Linked DNA regions of Homo sapiens: regions 2 and 3 are each linked to region 1. The links are contacts of gene promoters, found by promoter capture Hi-C in human tissues and cell types (Jung and others, 2019). All regions are on one chromosome and are shown on one strand. Each heading gives the region's core, a stretch centred on a gene start or on the middle of the fragment in contact. The rest is flanking DNA. Distances are from core to core; before and after follow the strand shown. Region 1 holds the start of HAND2 (heart and neural crest derivatives expressed 2). Region 2 has its middle 45 kb from the start of HAND2. Region 3 overlaps HAND2-AS1 (HAND2 antisense RNA 1).

What was found. The method cuts DNA at HindIII sites, captures the fragments that hold promoters and counts their contacts. A contact is called where the count stands out against the background at its distance.
Region 2: a fragment that was not itself captured here is called in contact with the fragment with the promoter of HAND2 in region 1 in 2 of the 25 tissues and cell types used here (H1 embryonic stem cells and spleen).
Region 3: a contact is called between a fragment that was not itself captured here and the fragment with the promoter of HAND2 in region 1, in 3 of the 25 tissues and cell types used here (H1 embryonic stem cells, dorsolateral prefrontal cortex and spleen).

What each region holds. Positions count from the first base shown.
Region 1 is chr4:173,527,176-173,531,551 of GRCh38, forward strand. It overlaps HAND2 (heart and neural crest derivatives expressed 2), which reads right to left and starts at 3,054. Exons shown (of 2, transcript NM_021973.3): 1 at 1,560-3,054; 2 at 1-200. The coding sequence starts at 2,114. The coding sequence ends at 102. HAND2-AS1 (HAND2 antisense RNA 1) reads left to right here and starts at 3,196. Exons shown (of 5, transcript NR_136196.1): 1 at 3,196-3,364; 2 at 3,792-3,903. The HindIII fragment of the contact is 12,639 bases long and covers 1-4,376 here.
Region 2 is chr4:173,483,494-173,487,860 of GRCh38, forward strand. It overlaps a transcript of SCRG1 not described here. Among named protein-coding and RNA genes, the nearest start is that of HAND2, 45 kb to the right of the region's middle. The HindIII fragment of the contact is 4,911 bases long and covers 1-4,367 here.
Region 3 is chr4:173,580,191-173,584,154 of GRCh38, forward strand. HAND2-AS1 (HAND2 antisense RNA 1) reads left to right here. Exons shown (of 5, transcript NR_136196.1): 4 at 2,515-2,688. Among named protein-coding and RNA genes, the nearest start is that of HAND2-AS1, 52 kb to the left of the region's middle. The HindIII fragment of the contact is 4,794 bases long and covers 1-3,964 here.

The DNA.
Region 1 (4,376 bases), core at 1,804-4,303:
CTCAGAGCGGAGCGCGGACGGCTTTTCCGGAGTCCTGGGTCTGCATCTGGCGCCTTGGCCCCTGCTCACTCGCGCTCTCCTCCTCCTCCTTCTCCTCCTCCTCACTGCTTGAGCTCCAGGGCCCAGACGTGCTGCGGCCAGCCCGTCCGGCCTTTGGTTTTCTTGTCGTTGCTGCTCACTGTGCTTTTCAAGATTTCGTTCTGGACAGAGGAAAGGCGAGGGCGAGAAAAGTGGAAAGAGAAATTCAGAGAGGATACCTGGTTCCACACCAACCCGGAGCTTCCTGCGCCGGAGGAGACAGTGAACCAGAGAGGAAAGGATACGATGGGGGAGTCCCAGCCCCTGCAGAGAAGCTACCAAGGTTAGCGCTACCCTAGCCGGCGGGGAGGCCTCGGCGCTGCAGCGCTCAACAACCGGATCCACAAGTTTATAAACAACCGCCCGTTTTCGAGTCGTTTATGGAGGAGCGGGGGGCCTTTTCTCTTACTCCAGATGTAGGGGCGGGAGCTGGAGTCGGCGCTAAGTCTGGTTTCTCTGTTTTCATTAGCAATCCTAGATCCACATCTAGGAAAAATAGGGCGAAGGAGCCTCTGTTTCGGCCTGGGCCTCTCGGCCAGAGGCTCTCGGCCTCCAGCTCAGCAGTGCCTCTCCTCCAAGGCTTCTGAAATCTCTGGTTATTCGGGAGGTCACTCGATTATGCAGCCACCAAAGGGCTGCAGGGGCCAAAGAAGAAAAATTCGACAAATGCAATTATTTTCCGGGCCCTTCGTGGACATAGCTCTATCCTGCACCACTGCCCTGTGGGCACTTGGTAGGAATCTGAGAAAATTTTAAGCGGCTCAATTTACTTTCGTGTTATTTTTAATAACAATGACCATAGTAATGCCTTTTCCCCCTTAAAATGTACAGGCTTATTCAAATAAAATTAGAAATGCCAATGGAATATACTCATCTGGGAAATTACATTTTAACGTCATAGCCAAGGAAAAATTGGAGCTGTATTTTGAAGTCAAAAGTACTTATTTTATGTTTACCATTACGTTTTCCGGGCATAGTATGAGAACAACCACAAAACTCAGGGCTCAGTCTCTGGCAGCCTCCTTCTGGGAGTGGGGTAGGGGGTGCGATCAATAGTGAAATAATTGGAATCAAGGGCTTCTTCGAGACTTATTCTGGAAACATCTGAAAGCAAGATTGGATTGGAGGCCAAAAGAAGGGTCTAACAGAGACGGGGTGAGGCATCCAGACCAGTGCGATCGCGATCGATCGCGACCCAGAGTTTTCAAGGTCCGTCCTAAGTACTAGGGGAGCAGCGATAACCCGGAGGTAAGATCACCAGCGCAAAGCATCCCTAACCTTCTCCTCCTCCTGCTGACACCCTCCCCTCAACTCTCTGCTTATGCCGGAAGCCATCCTTACACAACCTGGTGCAAACAACCTTGAAGCGGGACGCAGCCAAAGAACACGAGATGCCATTTCTCAGCCCAATTGGAAAGAGGCCGGGAGCACCAGTTCCCTGACCCCCTCAGCCCCACCGCCTGCCGCCCCCTGGTACTGACCAGCTCCTTCTTCCTCTTCTCCTCTTTCACGTCGGTCTTCTTGATCTCTGCCTTGAAGGCCTCCGCCTCGCCATTCTGGTCGTCCTTGGCCAGCAGGTCCATGAGGTAGGCGATGTAGCTGGTGGCCAGGCGCAGGGTCTTGATTTTGGAGAGTTTGGTGTCGGCGGGTACGTTGGGGATGCACTCGCGCAGTTCGGCGAAGGCGCTGTTGATGCTCTGAGTCCTGCGCCGCTCCTTGCGGTTGGCGGTGCCTCGGCGCTTCACCGGGCGCGGCCCCCCCAGGCCCGGGGGCCCGGCGCCCGGCGGCACCCCCCCGTAATGGGAGTGGTCCAGGCCGGCGGCGCCGCTGGCATACTCGGGGCTGTAGGACAGGGCCATGCTGTAGTCGGGGGGCGACATCTCGGGGTGGCCGATGAGCCAGCCATGGAAGTAGGGGTTCTCCTCATGGCTGCAGCGGCTGGCGGCGGCGGCGGCAGCTGCGGCGGCGGCGGCGGCAAACGGGTAGCCCTCGTGGTGCACCACCGGGTGGTGGGGAAAACCACCTACCAGACTCATTTCGCCCTCCGCGCCCCTCCACGCGCCCCAGCGTGCGCGCAGCCCCGCCGCGCCCTCGGCCCGGGCCCCTGCCTCAGCGCTCGGCGTCCTCCCCCACCCCCCACCCCCCAGCCCCCGGGCGCCCGGGCCCGCCCGGCAGCCGCAGAGGGGGCTGCTGCAGCCCGGGCCCCGTCCCCCCGCCTGGCCAGCCGGGCCCGCCTCAGCAGCGCTGCGGCCGCCGGCTCCCCATGGGGCGCGGCGAGCTGGTCCTGGCACCGTGCGCCCCTGGCCGCCGCCGCCGCCGCCTCCGGTTCCCGCCTTGCTCCACGGCCCGCGCTTCGGCTCCTGCTTCCCGGGCTGCTGCGCGGAGGCAGAATCCTCTCGTGCTCATACAAAGGTGCCGGGGCTCCCGCGAGGCTGGTACGCGGAGTCTCGGGAATCCAAGCCCGGGCCGCGGTCCTGGCACCGAAGCTAACCCGGAATCCAGGGGCGAGTCTGAGCCGCGGCTGGAGGAGCCGGTCCAGCTGTGCCGGGGGGCGGCGGGGTCGACTGCTCACTGCAAAGCTACCTCCGTGCGACCCTCCCCTTCCCGCCTCTTCCCCTCCCCCCACCAGCCCGATCTGGGTTCTTGGGCGCTTATTGTTTTAATGAAATTTTTGGTTGTTGTTGTTTTGGTCCTTAAATGTGATTTTAGCTGCGAGTAACGTGTCCTCGCTCCTCTCGCGCTCTCTCGGAGGGTTTTCAGAGAGGTCTCAGTGCATCCATTTTCTCAGATCCTCTCCTTTCGGGGCAAGGATCTGGGGCCCTGAATGAGCCTTGGAGCTCGAAGACCGCGGCTCGGGCTCTCGGAGGGCTCTGCGCGGTGGCCGAGGAAGCTCCGGGGTGACGGCGGTGGTTCTCCTGGGCTGGACGACGTGAGGGGAGCAAGCGGATTTTCCCAGCAAGATCTCCATGTACAGCTACATCTTTAGGGCCGCTCGGGTTAATATATGTCGTCAGAGGCTCCTCACGCCAATCCCGGGGCGGCAGGGGCGGCGCCTCGAGCTCTCGGCAATAAAACTTTTTGATGTTCACGTTGCTAATTGCCGAGGTCCTCTTCCAGGATTGGCTACCTCCTCATAACCATAAGATAATTAAAACTTGGCGGGGGGGGGGGGCAGGGTTAAAAAAACTTTTTTTATCAGTCAGAGGATAATGCAAGTGTTTAACAGATGCTTCACTATTAAAATATTTTCCCCCCAAGTCTCAAATATTGAAGAATCTCTAACCAGGTACAGTATCACTCTGCTCTCTTTTCTGGTTGAAAAGAAAGAAAGAAAGAAAACGCAGGTATTGCTTTTCGAAGTGCTTTGTAGGTAATCGAGGTAAGAAAATATACGCAGGCAGCCTCTTACAATTTTATGCAGGGGCGCCGGGAGCCTCGTGACGGGCGGTGGGGGCCCCCACAAAGGCGCGGCTGGGAGCTGGCGCTCTTTGCCCCAGCAGGGACGAGGAGCGGCTGGAGAAGGGTGTTTCTTTGACCCGTTTACAGGCTCGAAACGCCGGTCTCAGTGGCTATTGAGTTACCCACCAAGTTACCCCGGTTAGAGCTGTTTGGGGTGGCTCACGTTATTGCGGCAAACTTTGGAGATGACGGCTGAGTCCTCCGGGCGAACATGTCAAGCCGATTGTAAATGCTGTTATTTCCACATCCTTCAGGGACACCAGTCCCTACGAAGACCTTGGGCGATTTTGAAGTGCGGGCACCTCGATTCCCCGAATCTGTAGTGTGGCTGGTATCGGTGTTCCCCTGGTTTAACTAGCCTGTTTGGTAAGTAACTGAATATTTTTTACGGCGTGTTCAGAGCTTATTTTCCAGTTTTTATGAACAAACATATAAATATATCTCTGCATTCCTGCCTCCCTCATAAAAGCGGGCATCTGTGGAAAGCAGGTTTAGTTATCGGAGGGGAACCATTAAACGCCAGTTTAAGAGGCAGGCCGGGAGGACGGCTCGTGGATGTTGAGACTGCTGGCCTTGGTGATCTTGAACGCATTATAACGGAAAATGGATCTCCACTTGTAAGTCACCGGGCCGCGGGGCACCCGGGCCGCAGCGCCCGTGTGGCATGAGCTTCTTGAGAAGGCTCACGTGCGGCGAGGGCGGGTGGTAAATGGCAGGAGCTGAAATCACCCCAGGCTTGGCCCCAAGCCGAGAGGGGAGGCTGATGTGTATATGCAGATTCCACCCGAAGGAGTTCGGTGTGGAAAACGGTGTCAACAGGAGCCCGCGGGCTGTAAATT
Region 2 (4,367 bases), core at 780-3,279, 45 kb before region 1:
ATATTATATTCTGATATATAATATATATTATATATTGTATTATGATATATAATATATATTATATATTGTATTGTGATATATAATATATATGATATATTATATTGTGATATATAATATATATGATATATTATATTGTGATATATAATATATATGATATATTATATTGTGATATATAATATATATGATATATTATATTGTGATATATCATATATATGATATATTATATTGTGATATATCATATATATGATATATTATATGTGATATATCATATATATGATATATGATATATCATATATCATATATATGATATATGATATGTAATATATATAATATATATAATATATAATATATAATATATATTTCATATTACATATGTTATATATATTTCATATAATATATGTTATATATATTTCATATAATATATGTTATATATTTCATATATAATATAAATCATATATAATATATTATATATTTTATATAATATATAGTATATTATATATGATATATATTACATATTATATAATATATTATAATATACATATATAATTATAAATATAATATACATAATATATAATATACATGATATAATATATAATATACCATATATAATATATAATATATAATATACAATATATAATATATAATATAGAATATAGAATATTTTCTACATTATATATAATATATAATATATTTTCTATATTATATATTATATATATTTTCTATATTATATATAATATATATTTATATATTATATATTTTCTATATAATATATATTTTATATATCATATATTTTCTATGTAATGTATATTTTATATATTATATATTTTATACATAATATATTTAACATATTATATAATATATAATATATATTATATATTATATATTATGTATATTTTATACATTATATATTATATACATATAATATATATTATATATTATATACATATGATATATAATATATATTATATACATATAATATATAATATATATTATATACATATAATATATATTATATATTATATACATATAATATATATTATATATTATGTATATTTTATATGTTATATATTATGTATATTTTATATATTATACATTATGTATATTTTATGTAGTATATATTATATGCATGTAATATATATTATATGCATATAATATATATTATATATTATATATAACATGATGTATAATATATATTATATATTATATGCATATAATACATATTATATATTATATGCATATAATACATATTATATATTATATACATATAATACATATTATATATTATATACATGTAATACATATTATATATTATATATTATACATATAATATATATTATATGTACAATATATTATATATAATATATATTATGTATATTTTATATATTATATATTATATACATATATAATATACATTATGTATATTTTAGATATTATATATTATATTATATATTATATATAATATTATATATATTATATATAATATTATAAATATAATATATAATATATTATAAATATAATATATAATATATAATATATTATATATTATATATTATATAATATATTATATATTATATATTATATATTATATAATATATTATATATTATATATTATATATTATATAATATATAATATATCATATATATTACATATAATGTAATATATAATATATTATATATATTATATATTACATTATATGTAATATATATGATATATTATATATAGGATAAATTTTTTTTTTAAAAAGGAATGAGGCAAAAATGATGTCATGTGACTTCTCAGCCTTGGTCTCAAGAAGCCTTGCAAGTTTTGCTTTCATTGTCTACCAAGTGAATTAGTCACTACCAAGTAAATCAGACCTAGCTGTCTTGCTGGAAACACATGGCCCAGCTGACAGCCAACAACAAGTACCAAACATGACTGAGGCTATCTGGGCCATTCAGCCTCATGTAAGCCATTAGATGACTGAGGCTGCCTGAGTGATCCCAGACAAACCCAGCAGAAGAACTACCAGCTGGGCCCAGCACAAATTGCAGAATTACGAGCAATTTAATGGTAGTTGTTTTAAGCCATTAAGTTTTGCGATAGTTTGTTATACCATACTATCTAACCACTTCAAGAGGATACATAGATTTTTATCTGATTCTCAAAGATTATGAACTACTACTGAAGTTGAATTAGATTGTTAAAAATTGTGGCTGGGCCCTGTGGCTCATGCCTGCAATCCCAGCACTTTTGGAGGCTGAGACAGGCAGATCACTTGAGGTCGTGAGTTTGAGACCAGCCTGTTCAACATGGTGAAACCCCGCCTCTACTAAAAATACAAAAATTAGCCAGGTGTGGTGGCACACACCTGTAATCCCAGCTACTCGCGAGGCTGAGGCATGAGCATCTCTTGAACTTGGGAGGTGGAGGTTGCAGTGAGCCGAGATTGTGCCACCGCACTCCAGCCTGGGCAACAGAATGAGACTCTGTCTCAAAAACAACAAAAAAAATTGTATGATTCCCTGTCTCTCTACTCTCTTCATAAACTATGTCAAAGGCATGATTTAATTTAGCAAATCTTGCATTCAAACTGCATTTTAAAGTAAATCCTAGAATTATGTAACTGAAGAATCAGCAGGCCCTGGAGTCTGTAGTTCAGAGAATTTCTCTTCTTTCCTCTTGAAAAAGTATGTTGGGCAGTGTTTAGGCATCTCTTTCATTCTCCATATTTTTTAAAGATTAAAGCAATTTCATCTGAAACTTCTATTTACATTTTGGTTTGTTATTTCCAGGCCAGTGTTTAAACTTATTTATGACAGTTAGAATCTGCTCCTAGGTGATTTTAACCTTAAATTCTTTCTTACCAAAGAGTCTGAGAGTGTTCCATTTTGCATCCTTCACCACTGACATAATGCCATCACAGCTGGCCATGTATCGTAGGCTTTCTTGCTTTGGATTCAAACAGCCCTTTTCATCATCTAGAATGTTAACCTCCTTTTAAACTTTCTGACTCTTCTCACATATTCTTGACAGATTTTTTTTTCCATGCTTGTTTTTCTAGATCAGCTTTTGCATTTAACACACACCATTTAAAAATATATCTGATCTCAGCAGACAGCTTCCTACCCAAAGACACTAAATCTTTTTGGCTACCTCCTTCCTTTTTCTTTTCTTCTTCTTCTTCTTTTCCTTCCTGCGTTGGACCATTTACAATAGTAGCATCAGAATTTTATTTTGAGGAATCTCCTCTGCTTCTTTTTGGAATCTCAGACTGGGGTGTCAAAGTCAAGCTTTTATAATTTCCTGAAATATTTTTAGGCTCAGACTAACAGAGTGTGTGTCTGGCAGTGACCACATCCCTCTGGAATTTTCTGATGGCCAGGTGGCCCTCTTCCAGGGTTCCTGTCACTTCTGATTTTCCATTCAGGGCCTCCTTGTTGGCCAGAATTAGAAGCAGGGTGTTAATCCTCCTCCTCACTTCCTCTCCGTCTCCCTTCTGAAAGATGAAATTATCATTTGGGTTACTGATTCTTACCCTGGCTGCACATTCAAATCACTTGGGGAGCTTAAAAAGAAAAAAAGTCTGAGGCCCCACCCTGAGAGAGTCTGCTTTAATTAGTATGGGGTGGAGCCTGCCTGTCAATTTTTTATTTTAAATTCTGGGACTATTCTAATGTGCAGGCAGGGCTGAGAATACTAATTGAGGCAAATCATGGACTTATCAGATGTTCTGAATTTAGGAAATGAGACATCTGGCAGATGGCTGGATAGTTGAAGCTCTCACCATTAAGATTTTGAATGCCTCTTTTCTCCAGTCCATTACACTTCAACACAAGCAATCTAGTTCTAGCATGTCTAAACAGGATAATGACAACCAGAACCATGATATTACTTTCTGATTGTTGATATTAATCTCAACACAGCTCTAACATCAGTAAACAAGATGAAGCTAGACAGCAAAAGTCCTTTGAAAATCTCAGAAGACATGATTTGGGACATTAGCTTTTCTGAAATTCCAAATAAAGATGAACCATGTTGCTCTTGATGGGTTTCCTTATTCATTGAGAGTAATTTGACAAAGGAAGTAAATTTAAAATGAGAAAATAAAATATTATTTTTCACCTTTTTTAGTCAGTGTTCAGGATGTTAATTCTTAGACAAAAGGCAATTGAGATGTGAAATACATTAGAATTTTTTAAAATTCCCTCTCAGCACATATCATATACACCACATATTTGGGCTTTTTTTAAATTTTAAATTTAAGTTGTTAATTATCATCAAGTATGCAAATTCAATTTTCCATAAGCCTATTTTTCTCCTTTCTCCATAGAAATGGCCTATTTTGGCTGGGCATGGTGGCTCATGCATGTAATCCCAGCACTTT
Region 3 (3,964 bases), core at 843-3,342, 52 kb after region 1:
GCTTGTTATTGTCCTTTGATTTATGCACTTAAGCAAAATGCAGTAAATAAAAAGATTGGTGGTTTAGTATTTTAAGGAAATGATTAGAAACATTTGCCAATGCTATTCATTTTATACAGTTTTTCTTTCCAAATTACAAAAATAGTGTTTCAATTCAGTGAATGGCTTCACCATAACAAAATCTTAAATGATCATTATAGTAAGTGGAAATGCTGATGAAGTTACTATGAAATAGTTTAAAAACTGTGAAGTAAATATGTAATGCTCATATATAAAGCATTTGTCTCTCTCCTTTAATTTCATATGCCTGGCAGTTTACAAAATGTCCCATAATAATCTAAGGCACATTTATGGTTGTGAATTTACCTTATTAAAAACATAGTTGGTTTTTGCAGAAACTTTCATATGAAAAATACAGAGGACAATTCTCTTGGAAAGCATCCTTCAAGAAAATTATTGGGCTTAGACGAAACATTTTGATTTGCTAGGAAATGAAAATACTGACTTTTCAGATTTCTTGATGATGGAATATTCTAGAGGTACAAAATGCATCCAAAGTCAAACTCTAAGACAAATCTTTTAAACAAGATTTCATTTCAATATTGTAGTTTATGATTTTACATTTCATTTCAGTTTGAAGCTTTTCATTCTTACAATTGCTTAACCACATTTTCATATTAGGCAACTCTAGGCAGTTATATATATATATATATATATATTATAGTTGGCCAAGGATTCCAAATGATTGCATGAGTTTTTAAAAGCTTATTTAAAAAAACAGATATAAATGCAATTCACTTGCACATTGTAGGCAAACAAGAAACCTAATGGAGACAGACACATTTTAATGCACAGGTTGCTTATATGAGGCTTTATGTGTCCAATATATGTTTTTCTGAGTACTTAACTACTAAGCTGATGGGTACCAGAAAAAAAGTCACAGATATAAAAGAACAAATGAGTTCACAGATATCTATACCAGAATTGTTAACTTAGCGAATGTTTCCTTGAAAACAGGATATAGTGAATCTGCATATATTTAATGGAAAGTGGTTGTATTTACTGGAGAATTAGGAGAAATGACTTCTTAATGGAGCCAGAAGTTCTGATCTGCTATCCTTCAAAGAAAGACTGTTTCCCAGGCTGGCCAAAATTCCTATGGAGCAACCTATGCCTATTGATAAGTTATCGGATTCCTCTCCGGAATCAGCTGGTCAGGAAGGATACAGAGGGGAGGAAGGGGAAGGGAGAGGAGATTCCGATAGTGGCGCTGTCTGATTGCCAAGGTAGGAGTGGGTGGAGAGTTGAGAAAGGAATAGTAAGAGAGGTAAAAGGAAAGAGAACAGGAAAGAAGAGAAAAATCAAAAAGAAACAAAGCAGAGGCCAAGCAGGGTGATAATAGCCATATAGAAAGGGCATCCTTGTAAATGGAACAGCATTCCAGATCTCCAGGCTCATTAGAATGGGGGATTGCTCACCTGGATTGCATGAACTTCTCAAGTCTCTGAACCCACTGAAATTGTATACATATTTTGGGAGTATGTATATGTGCATTTTTTTCTGCCTGGGGAAAGTGTTCTTTTCTTTGATCTGATTCACCAAGGGGTCCAAGACTCAATAAAATTTAAGAACTACTAATTTAGTGGGATTATACACAAATTTTAAAGACAAGTGTCTTTAAAGGAGTCATCGAATGCTTAAGATTGACTGTACATAATCCAAGAATGTTACCATCTAGTATTAAGTTGTATATTCTGGGAAGAGTATCCCAGAATATCCCATGTCTTTCAGACATGTAGAATGATAGCTGTTCATTGAAATGCTATTAAAATAAGTTTTTTTGAGACAAGGTCTCACTCTGTCGCCCAGGCTGGAATGCAGTGGTGTGATCAGGCTTACTGCAGCCTCTACCTCCTGAGCTCAAGTGATCCTCCCACCTCAGCCTCCTGAGTAGCTGGGACTATAGGCACGTGCCACTATGCCTGGCTAATTTTTTTTGTAATTTTGTAGACACAGGGTTTCGCCATGTTGCCTAGGCTGGTCTTGAACTTCTGGGTTCAAGGGATCCACTAACCCAAGTGCTGGGATTACAGGAGTGAACCACTGCCCTGGCCTTCAGCCAAATACTATTGATTGACCATTTGCACTAAGTTAAGTCAGCATTTTTCTCATTGAGTGCCCTGGGAGTGTGGAGAAACAGTGTGGTATGGGGGAAAGGGCATTAATTTGGAGCCAGATATTTCTGGGACTCAGGTACTATATGGAATTCAAACTAGTTTAGTGAAACTAGGAGGCTGATATGGCCTCCTTAACTCTGTATCCTCTTCTGTAAATGAAGAGGATGATCATTACTTCATAGGGCTGTTGTAGAAATGAAAAGAAATGCAATACTAGCCTACATTTATTGGATACTTACTATCTCTCATTCACTATGATATGTTTTCTGTGCTTTATGCAATTTAATCTTCTCAACAATTTGATGAGATTGATGTTATATTTATTTCTATTTTACAGATGGGGAAATTGAGGCAGAGAAGCCAAGACATGTGCTAAAGGTCATGCAGGCTATGAATGGAGCTGGAATGTGAACGCAGGCCATATGACCCCAGAGCCCATGTTCTTGAACCCTTAGAAAGACAGCAGCAACACACCTGGTGCAGCAGCTGCTTAGTTGGAGTGGCTGACAAGGTTGGCAGAGGATCCCGTTCCTCCCGTGGAGTGGCTGCCATGATACTGCCTGCACTGAAGCTGCTCCTATTTCTGAAATATGTATTGTTATTTTTTTCCCTGCATGTTGAACATTATACTCTTCTGTTCTTTCGCATTCTCTTCTTCCCTTCCGGATGACTTCTAGGGTTTTTGTGATTCTGTAATTCTAAAGGAGAAAGGATAATAAGAATTGTGAGGCCGGGCGCGGTGGCTCATGCCTGTAATCACAGCACTTTGGGAGGCCAAGGTGGGCGGATCACTAGGTGAGGAGATGGAGACCATCCTGGCTAACACGGTGAAACCCCGTCTCTACTAAAAATACAAAAAATTAGCGGGGTGTGGTGGCGGGCGCCTGTAGTCCCAGCAACTCGGGAGGCTGAGGCAGGAGAATGGCGTGAACCCGGGAAGCGGAGCTTGCAGTGAGCCGAGATTGCGCCACTGCACTCCAGCCTGGGCGAAGAGGGAGACTCCATCTTAAAAAATTAAAAAAAAAAATTACAGAAAATTAGCTGGGCGCGGTGGCGGGCGCCTATAGTCCCAGCTACTCGGGAGGCTGAGGCAGGAGAATGACGTGAACCCGAGAAGCGGAGCTTGCAGTGAGCCAAAATCGCGCCACTGCACTCCAGCCTGGGCGGCAGAGCGAGACTCCGTCTCAAAAAAAAAAAAAAAAGAATTGTGATGTGAGTGTCCAAAAAAACCCTGATTTCCAATCACCTACACATGGCTGTTTCCTAGATACACCAGAAAAAATTGTGACTTTCCGGATACCTAGTTTCCCTCCCTCCCTCCCTCCCTCCCTTCTTCCCTCCCTCCCTCCCTCCCTCCCTCCCTCCCTTCCTTCCTTCCTTCCTTCCTTCCTTCCTTCCTTCCTTCCTTCCTTCCTTCCTCCCTTCCTCTCTCTTTCCCTTTCCTTTTCCTTTTCCCTTTCCCTTCCATTCCCTTCCCCGCTTTTTATTTCTGGATACCTGGTGTTCTATCAGAATGAGATCTGCACAAGTATTATCCTAGCAACACAGGATCCCACCTACTCAACACACCTTTAAAAAACTCCTCGAATTGGCTGGGCGCGGTTGCTCACACCTGTAATCCCAGCACTTTGGGAGGCCGAGGCGGGCAGATCACGAAGTCAGGAGATCGAGACCATCCTGGCCAACATGGTGAAACCCCGTCTCTGCTAAAATACAAAAAATTAGCGGGGCGTAGTAGTACGCGCCTATAGTCCCAGCTACTCCGGAGGCTGAGGCAGGGGAATTGC